3 separate regions of the Homo sapiens genome follow, and all the other regions are linked to region 1. Evidence: promoter capture Hi-C in 16 types of primary human blood cells and fetal thymus (Javierre and others, 2016). All regions are on one chromosome and are shown on one strand. The core of a region is centred on a gene start or on the middle of the fragment in contact, and the rest is flanking DNA. Distances in the headings are between cores, read along the strand shown. Region 1 holds the start of PAX6-AS1 (PAX6 antisense RNA 1). Region 2 overlaps DCDC1 (doublecortin domain containing 1). Region 3 holds the start of WT1-AS (WT1 antisense RNA).

Region 1 (2,700 bases), core at 75-2,574:
TGCAAATAGGGTTCCTAGAAAAGTTTGCTTTCCATTTCATCACCCTGTGACGATCCCCCCATCTCTCTTTTCCCTGTAACCTCTGCCCCCAAGAGGCAAGAGTTCAGCTTCAAAGGAAAAGCAAGCAAGTCAAGGCCACCTCAGTCCCTTCTCCCTGGATATCCCCTCTCTAAACCGCTGCCTATTCTAAAGGCCAACGACCCGGTCCTGCGATTTGTCCCGTTGTAGACCTGGGAACAGGCAGGCGGGAACTGGGGGCTTTACTGGGGGATTTGAGGCTGGGGAGGGGGAGGGAGCAAATGTCATGGCTGGCTCGCTCAAGCATCCAGGGAACCGAAGCTAAGCGCATCCTGACGGGCTTTTAAAATGACATTGATTAGGACAAGCTGTTCCCAACCCCAGTAAGAGTTAATCTGCCTGTTAATCAAGGCACTAAGGGGCTCAATGCGAGTTTTATTAGCGACAGGAGAACAGAGGCGGCAGCCAGGGATCAAAAGCCGGGATCCCATATATTTGTCAGCGCTATCTCCAAAAAAAAAAAAAAAAGTATTTTCAATTTGAAAACAATTCGGCGCTTTTCGTCACTTCCTAACCCAGTCTCACAGAGGGTGACTTCCAAACCTGGCTAGCGGGGAAAACCGCTGCCCGGGGGACAGAGGGGCTGACAGGAACTGCGGGTTGGCTCAGCCGAATGCGGCCGGGGAGAATTTAAGAATTCTCAGCCCGCGCGGCCCGATGCCTCTGATTCCTCACGAGAGGAAAGGGAATGAAAAATGAAGCAACAAATGACACCACCCAGGCTGGCAGCCCTCGTTCCCGGCCAGACCCCGCTCCTCAGGCCCGGCTCTGGCGCCGGGTGGCGTCCAGCCCCTGCACGCGCGGCGCGGCCCGCGGGAAAGTTTGTGCAGCGAGAGTGACTGTCCTTCCGCCTCGCGCGCGCTGCCCCCTTCTGCCCCGGAGGGGCGTTGGGTTCCCTTCGGTTTTCCTTTCCAATTCTAAAATAAATAAATAAACTCCGGGCCCTGGGGAAATCTGAATAGTAATTCCAGTCATCCAAATTCTATGAGAGGGTCTGAGGAAAAAAAGACAAGCCTATCACGGGCGCCCTCCGATCACGAAGGGCACGGGCATGAGAAGGCGACAGAGGAGGTCCTCGGCTCGCCCTGGGCGCGGAGCGAGGACTCTGGTCAGAGGTAATTATGTCACCGCGTTTTCTCGCCGTGACAGCCGAATAAACACGATCTCCAATAAACATCTCTAATGAGGGAGGAGGCCCGAGGATGGCTGGGTTTGATTTATGACTGGAGGAGAAGGTCCACTTCCCACTGCGAAGCAGGCGACCTGCTCGCCGCCCAGCTCCAGGGAGAGGAACCCGCGGAGGAGAGGATCCCGGCCCAGGTAAGGCGTGCGGCCGGACTGCCACTGCGCTCGTCCCCCGTTTCCAGGTGAGGTGAGCAGGGGGCGCCACCGCTCGGAGTCGGGCGGAGGTCCCAACACCTGTCACAGGTGACTGAGCTCCGAAGGTGCTCCCAGAAGACCTAGAAAGGGGGCGCAGGAGCGCGAGTGGGAGTGGGGGTTGGGGGCTAGCCGGGGCCTGGCCCAGAGGCCGCCCCAAACTCCCGGGCGGGGTTCTTGGGTGCCCCGCCTAAGCCGGCCTGGGCGTCTCCAGCTGCTTTTAGGGCCGGGCTCCCAGGACTTTCGCCCGGCTGAACCACAAGTTAGTCTAAGTTTGGGTCGTCCCTTCCCTGACTCACTAAGGGGACACTTCCGGGCCCCGGCTCTGGCCCTCCAAGGGCCGCAGGGTGGTGGGCGCTTCTCTTTCCCGGGCTTGGCGGCCCGGCTCCCATGGCGCCCGCGCGCTTCCCGCCGAGGCAGCCAGCGCAGCGCCCGCAGTAACCGGAGCCCGCGTTCTAGCTCAGTGAGAATCGCTAATTATTAGGTCTTCCGAAGTGAAGCTCAAATCACACGCTGGGAGCTTTACGCGCTGCCCAGCTCTGTCGGCCGCATTCTTTCGTACTCCGCGTCTTTCTGAGAAACGAACCCCATCTCTAGACTTTGTTGCGGTCCAGCCATCTGCACTTTGCAACCGCGGGAAACTTCTGCTGCACCTCGCCCGACCCGCGGCAGGGTGTCTTTAAGCGCTCCAGGCGCGGGTACGGACTTTCCCAAGCGTGGATGTCGTGAACTGCGATGCAGAGGAGGTCTGGATGCAAAGTGCGTCCCCACCTCCTGCATTTTTCGCGGTCGCGAGTGGCTTTAGCAGACAGCAGCAGCAGACTCCCGCCCCCTACTCCCAGCTCAGGGCCGGACTGGAAGTCCACTCTTAGGAGTGGAACATTTTGCTACTTTTGCAGAAGAGCACACTCGGCAAAGACAAGTCCCTCCTCCACCCCCCTTCCTATCCCTCCCTCAGTAACTCGCTTCCATCTTTGTATGCCTCCTTTTAAAAGCAAAAATCAAGCCCCGGGGCCACTTGGGGCGGGCTTTGATTTGGGGACAGCAGTCGCTGGCAGCGGAGAGGCCCCGCGGGCCCCGAGCCGGGCCGGGGCCGGAGCCCGGGCGGTTACCTGGGAGCGGAGGGCGGGGAGGCAGGTGAGCCTGGCAGCGCCGGTTCCCACACTTCTCACCGCCGCTCGGCAGGGGAAGTGGCAGATCTGACAGCCGCGTTCTACGCGAGGACCTGCCCCAGAGTTTAAATGT
Region 2 (3,066 bases), core at 421-2,920, 510 kb before region 1:
ATAACAATTTAAAAATCAACAAATTCAGTAGACATATAATGGAAGAGAATATAATGCATGAATCCAGGTTCATTAAATGAATGCATTTTTTGAAAAACAAAATATGACAGAACATTTCATTATGGACGCAGATATGAGAAAAAGTGTTATGCTGCTATTTAGAATGTGTCTTGTGTGTCGTGGAATTGAAATATTTCCAAATCATCAATAATTAAAATGATGAGAATCCATCATTTCACTGACACTTCTACATGAAAAGATGGCCTATTTTAAATGTGCTCACACATATTCTTGTCAATCACAAGCTGTCATAGCAAATTATTTCATTTTGTAGATCACATGGCAGTTACTAGAAAATCTCTAGGCTTAAATTTAGATCTTAGGTGTAGTATCAAGAACTCCTTTCATGCATTTTTTTCTGTGACTACGTCTTCACAATATTGGATCTAAAAGATTTAAAATCTTATTCATAATACCAAGTTTCACTTCTGGTTAACAAAACTCAGGACTGAAATGAATCACTGTAAATGATAATTCTGAAAGCCCAGTAATAGAATAGGATATACAGGAGAGAGTAGAAATATTCAACCAAAAAGTTTTAAAGACAATCAGAACTCCATACAACAGAACTTGGACCTAACGAATTAGGTCTAAATAGTGTTTTCTCCTCATCTTATTTAAGATATTCAGGCAATCACAGGGCACGAACCATTTATTATGCTATGTTTGCATTACTTACATACAGCTCCTAGCAGTTATAAAGGAACTGAACTCTTATAAACCCCATGGATCTGATCCAAGAATTTTCACTGTGTCACAATTAAGCAGAAGATTTAGGAAACTGTGAATAAAACCTAAACCACATGGCCATGAATCAGAAAACTTAATATGCCTTTTCAAACAATTCATTAACTACCTATTCATAATTTCAATGAATTATTAATAAATGTCAGAAACTTTAAATGCCAGAAGTATAATACCTAATAAGGCAACATTATCAACAGTATTTATATAAAATATTTCTATTTTCCTGATCTTTTCCATACACAATTAATATTTATGATTAAATATTCAACTTTAAAATGTAAGAATTATTCTAATACTGCATTTCAACAAGGAATGCTTCATGTCAGTCTTGACCTTGGCCTGACCTCCGTATGAAAGCTTTGTGTTTCAAGGTATGTGATGAATAGCTCTCCGGCTTTCTATTAGATCCAATGCCACTGGTTGTCAACAGTTATGCTCAAAAGGCGTAGTAAAATAGTTAAAATATCAGAGATGTTCTATAGGATTTTTTCTGTCTTAGTAAATCTGGAAATCGTTCTTAGGCAATTTTCTCCATCTACACTGCTTTTCCAATGAATAAGGAAAACCACTGAAGTATAGATATATAATTGCCAAAATATATACTGGCTTGTTTGGCCTTCCAATGCCAGAAATAAAATAAGATCCATTTGATTTATGTTGTAAAATAGTATTCTCAGTTTGAAGGATTCATAACTTATCTACTCAGTTTAAGTTCCTTAAAGGCCAGGACTTCTATCCCTATGCTGGGGCACACATAGTAGGTACTCAATAAAAATGTGTTGATTTAAATTTTGATTTAATTGCATTAAATTGAATTTAAATTAGAGATGAAAGAATAATGATAAAAAAGAAATCAGACTATGAACCACAGCTTTTATCTTTCTCTGACCTGGCCTAGTATCTAGCATATATAGACTCTCAATAAATGTTTGTTGAATGAATAAAAGTCTGTAAATTAAAACAATGACCAGTTATCAATTGTATATAAAATACTTATGCTCATTTAGAAAGATACATCATTAACACTTAATTCTGCCAATTGATTTCCCCTATTTACCTTTAGCATGTTCAATTATCCAACTTCTGATCATGTCTCTTTAAGTTTATCTACCACTTTCAAAGTTATTCACACGTTTTTATTTTAATGGTACACTTGTGGCTAGTTGGAAAATTATCGATTTATCTGTAAAACAGATGACAGAAAGGTAATCTTCAAGCTGATTTTGGTGGTTTGAAAAAGTGTATGTGAATATGTGAGTGATATGTAATATATCACTCACATCAAGTTAAATATTATCTTTCATATATAAATGTATATATGTTTACATTTATATTCTTAACATTCTGAAAGAAACCAAATATCATTGTTTAAGCTTATCTATAAGCTCAACTTAGATGAATGGCTTTTCCCCATTATACTTATCCTAACTCTTTTTAATGGACATGTGATATGCTAGTCTGTGTCCAAGCTCACCTACAATTTCTTTTCTCAAAAGACAAGGCACATCTGCCACCTGCTCTACTCCGTGTCCCAGCAACAACTGTCGAGCAGCATAAAGATTGATTATCAGTCAAAAACCATTGCACAACACCAGATTTTGGTGGGTTAAGCTTGCTGATCCAGCAAGAGATGGTGTGAAATTTTCAGGAATGTGTGCCAACATTTTGGTGCTAAAAGAACAGCAGTGCATGTCACAGTGAAACACAGCCAAAGATACGCAGACAAAGCAGAGAAGTTTTTTGTTCTGGACTTGGCTTTTGAAAAGGATAAAAGAGAAAACAAAAAGTAGGAGGAAATTAGTTAGTACATTTAAAAATCATCCACCAAGCTCAGTCATGTGTGTGACATTATTATTTCAGGCATACATGTCCAGGAGATTTTCTTCTTAGCTTAGCTATAAATAATTTTTATATGTCTCTTCTACAATACCATTATTCATATGAAAGGCAAGCATTTCTTATTAATAACAATAATCAAGGATCTTAATGAAGCAATCATTACAAATATATCTGAATTTTTTAAAGTCACAGAAAAGTATTTGCCCACTACGACCCATGTTTTTATATAAGCAAATGATTCAATGAATATAAAATTAAGGCAGCCAGCCATATTTTAAACTTAAAGCAAAATGTGAAAAATATATGAGTCTACACTATCACATAGGTAATTTTCAATGACCATTATAGCAACAAGTTTCTTTACAAGAATGAAATTTTCTTAAATTTTCTATTGAATTCAAGAAATTGCTTATTTCCTGA
Region 3 (2,935 bases), core at 357-2,856, 620 kb after region 1:
TGAACTCCTTACCCCAGCTGCCTGGCTGCCCTCAGCTTCCCAAAGCTCAAATAAGAGGGGCCGGCGGCGCGGGGAAGAGGAGGAGCCAGGAGGCTCGGCCGCTCCATTCACTCAGCAGCCCAAGCCCGGCCAGGCAGCGCGCGCTGCTCCTTGGGGGCGCCCTCGCAGCTGGGGTGAGGGCGGGTCCGAGGGAGCGTCCCTCTCGGAGACACCCTCCTCTTCAACCCAACACGCGCTCTCAGCTGGCCGGTGTGGCACAACCCTCCCCCCACCTCCCCTTCTTGGCCTTCGCCAGTGTGGGAGCCTCGTCTCACTGGAGAGTCCGTTCAGGTAAGCAGTGAGTCCGGGCAGGGTCGAATGCGGTGGGAGTAGAGATGGGGTTGTTAATCTAAAAGAGTGGTTTGGAGGGAGGGGCAGGTAGGCTCCAAGAGGGCGGGAACTTCAGGAAAGCGCAGAAAGAACTCAGTCAAGCTTCAAAGAAGCGTATACCCTTGCTTTGCACCCTTGAGTCTGGCTCTTGCTTCTAGAACTGTCGGGTAGGGGAGTGGCCATGATCTTGGGGTCACTGGGGAAAGAGGTGGCCCTTTGTGGGTTCCAGAGGTCGGGACTGAAAGCGAACGTCCCTCAGTTGGGTGGCCGGGAGTTGCACCAGTTATAAGCCGGGCGTATTTCGATCGGCTAGTAGTTGTTTACTTGGTGAGGTTTGCGCCAGGCGGAAGGCGGTTGCCGCCTACCTAAAATTGGAGTCAGCAGCACTTAGTTTCCCTTTCCAGTGAGGAATATCTAATTCTTCTACGGTTAAGCCGGGAAAACAGCGGCTAGTTTAGGAGGGAAGAAAACCCTTGGGCAAACGCCCAAAGCCTGCGTATATTCCGGCCGGAGCATCCTGGCGCCCAGTTTGGGGAGGAGGGGTGAAGGGGAGGGTTTGGATACGAAGCCCGGCAGGGAGCGGGTAACTCCTGGAGCCACTCCGCCGAGCACTGCCTGTGGCCCTGGTCGAGGATACCATTCTGGTTGCTCAGTGATTGACCAGGAGGCGGAAGCCAGTTAAGGGGACCAAGGAGTGGAGTAGGGAGAACCTCCATCGGCCCACGGGCGCGAGTTAGTGTTCGAATCTTTGGGAGCTCGAAGAGCTTCGCTAAATCTGACTCCCTTCGTCTAGTCTCTGTTTGGCAGCCCCCGCGCCCCAGAGCAGGTGTTTGGGGCGGGTAGGGGGTGTTTTGGTTTGGTTTTTGGATCTTCTAAAGGAGTCAGTATCTATTGGGAAACAACCCCTAGGCAAGGAGAAGAACCGGGGGCCGGAGCGGAGCGTGTTTCAGAGGTGCGTATAAAATCCCAGGGGCGCCAGGAGGCAGCAGCGACGGCGCAGCGTGGGACGGCCAGGCGCGACGGGAGGGAAGCAACCGGTTGCAGTCCGGCCTCCTGTACCTGGCTGGCCCGGGCTGGGGCTGCAAGCTTTCCAGCCAAACTTATGTGAAGCAAAGTAGTTGCAGTTTGACAAAGAATGGCGTTTCAATAAATGACATAGTAATTTTTTACGCTTTGGTTTTTAGCTTGCATTGCATAAACGTTGTCGCCATTAAATTCTGGCTGCGGACCCGAAGTGTGTGCGGGCCCAGGACTTACTCGAAGGGCGCACTTCTTGGGAATGCGCATCCCGTAGGCGCAGGAGACCCTGAGGGTAAAGATGCGGCACTTGAGCCCTCCGCTTGCCTCCCAGGCCACCTTTGCTGCTTGACTTTGCGTCGTCTCCACTCAGAAGCTTTTAAAATTATTATTAAGAAAAGAAAGATTCTACAAGACACTGCCCCCACGCTCTCTGCTCAGTCCTCTCCCACACGATCTATCCCTAAACCTTTCGCGGGGCTCGCGCGTTTGGTTTTTTGAGTGGAGAAAGGACTCTCGAGACAAAATTCACTGCCAGTTGCCCTAAGAACCCCCCAGATCCCTGTATCTCCCTTCCTTCTCCCCGCCTATTATTTCTACTTGGAAGTCGTTTTTCTTAACTAGGACTCAACTGTGAGGGGCGAGGAGCCCTTTATGAAAAGCCGGGGACTTTCATTTCCAAACGAAAAGATTGAGATTGTTTCTTCTTTTACCATCCTTGGCACTTTTAGCGGGGGGAGAGGAGGTTATCTGAAGGGAGGCTGGCTTGAATGTGAGTCGTTGTGTTTGTGAAACCCAGGTAAGGCAAAGACACGTAAATCTCTGCCAACATTTTTCAAAAATAAGTTTTTGCCCCGGGGTGAGGGATGTAGGGGTGGATAGGAGGAAAGGAGAGCCAAGCAAATGTAGAACTCCTCTCTCCTCTGCCATTTATTTTCTCAGAATCCTTGTGGGGGCGGGGAGGGGAAGAGCACCGGTGCGAACCCCGGGGTGCCCCCTCGCCCGACTTGGACTTCTCCGACTAAAGAGGTGGGAGGAGTTCCCTGCAGCCTGCGGGGCCAAGAAGAAAGTGCTAAGCTGAGGAGCCGCAGTCGGAGGACCCCAGGGACCCGACAGGAAGTCTCCGTACGACCCCAACGGATCCACATGCCCGGAAGCCCAGGCGACACTAAGCCAGCGCTGGGGAACTGACGTACTCCTGCAGTCGCAGGGCGCTCCATGCCTCTCTGTCCTCTTCTTTGTTGTGGGTAACGTTCTCTGCGGGAGACCTGAGGTTTTCCAAGGGGGACATGCCAGCTACACTGGCCTTGGCGCCCTGAGCTAAGCACCAGGACTCACAGCCTAGCACGAAGGCAGGTAGCACCTTCACCCGCCGCGGACGATAGGCGCTCTCCTGTACCTCCTTTAGCTCGCGAGGCCCGCCCTTCGCGAGGTCCCAGAGAAAAGCAGGCTGTGGAAAACTGGGCGCCCCCTTCTTTCACCCACCTTCTTACCCCTGTCAGCGCCGAGATCTGTAGCAGAGGTTCCTGGTCTGAACCACCGATTGGCA

Evidence for each region. The method cuts DNA at HindIII sites, captures the fragments that hold promoters and counts their contacts. A CHiCAGO score of 5 or more calls a contact.
Region 2: a fragment that was not itself captured here is called in contact with the fragment with the promoter of PAX6-AS1 in region 1 in 1 of 17 cell types (total CD8 T cells); the score reaches 5.2 in total CD8 T cells.
Region 3: a fragment that was not itself captured here is called in contact with the fragment with the promoter of PAX6-AS1 in region 1 in 1 of 17 cell types (fetal thymus); the score reaches 5.5 in fetal thymus.

What each region holds. Positions count from the first base shown.
Region 1 is chr11:31,815,242-31,817,941 of GRCh38, forward strand. It overlaps PAX6-AS1 (PAX6 antisense RNA 1), which reads left to right and starts at 1,325. Exons shown (of 3, transcript NR_033971.1): 1 at 1,325-1,398. It also overlaps a transcript of PAX6 not described here. RefSeq lists enhancers at 354-1,115, 2,637-2,700 and a promoter at 2,562-2,700. The HindIII fragment of the contact is 5,434 bases long and covers 1-2,700 here.
Region 2 is chr11:31,301,513-31,304,578 of GRCh38, forward strand. All of the region lies in intron 6 of DCDC1 (doublecortin domain containing 1), which reads right to left. Among named protein-coding and RNA genes, the nearest start is that of DCDC1, 67 kb to the right of the region's middle. The HindIII fragment of the contact is 1,016 bases long and covers 1,163-2,178 here.
Region 3 is chr11:32,435,517-32,438,451 of GRCh38, forward strand. It overlaps WT1-AS (WT1 antisense RNA), which reads left to right and starts at 2. Exons shown (of 5, transcript NR_120548.1): 1 at 2-330. It overlaps WT1 (WT1 transcription factor), which reads right to left and starts at 23. Exons shown (of 10, transcript NM_024426.6): 1 at 1-23. RefSeq lists promoters at 1-1,022, 1-474, 116-218, 1,122-1,458, enhancers at 64-96, 1,760-1,907, 2,497-2,935 and cis regulatory regions at 403-440, 425-551, 644-663. The HindIII fragment of the contact is 307 bases long and covers 1,454-1,760 here.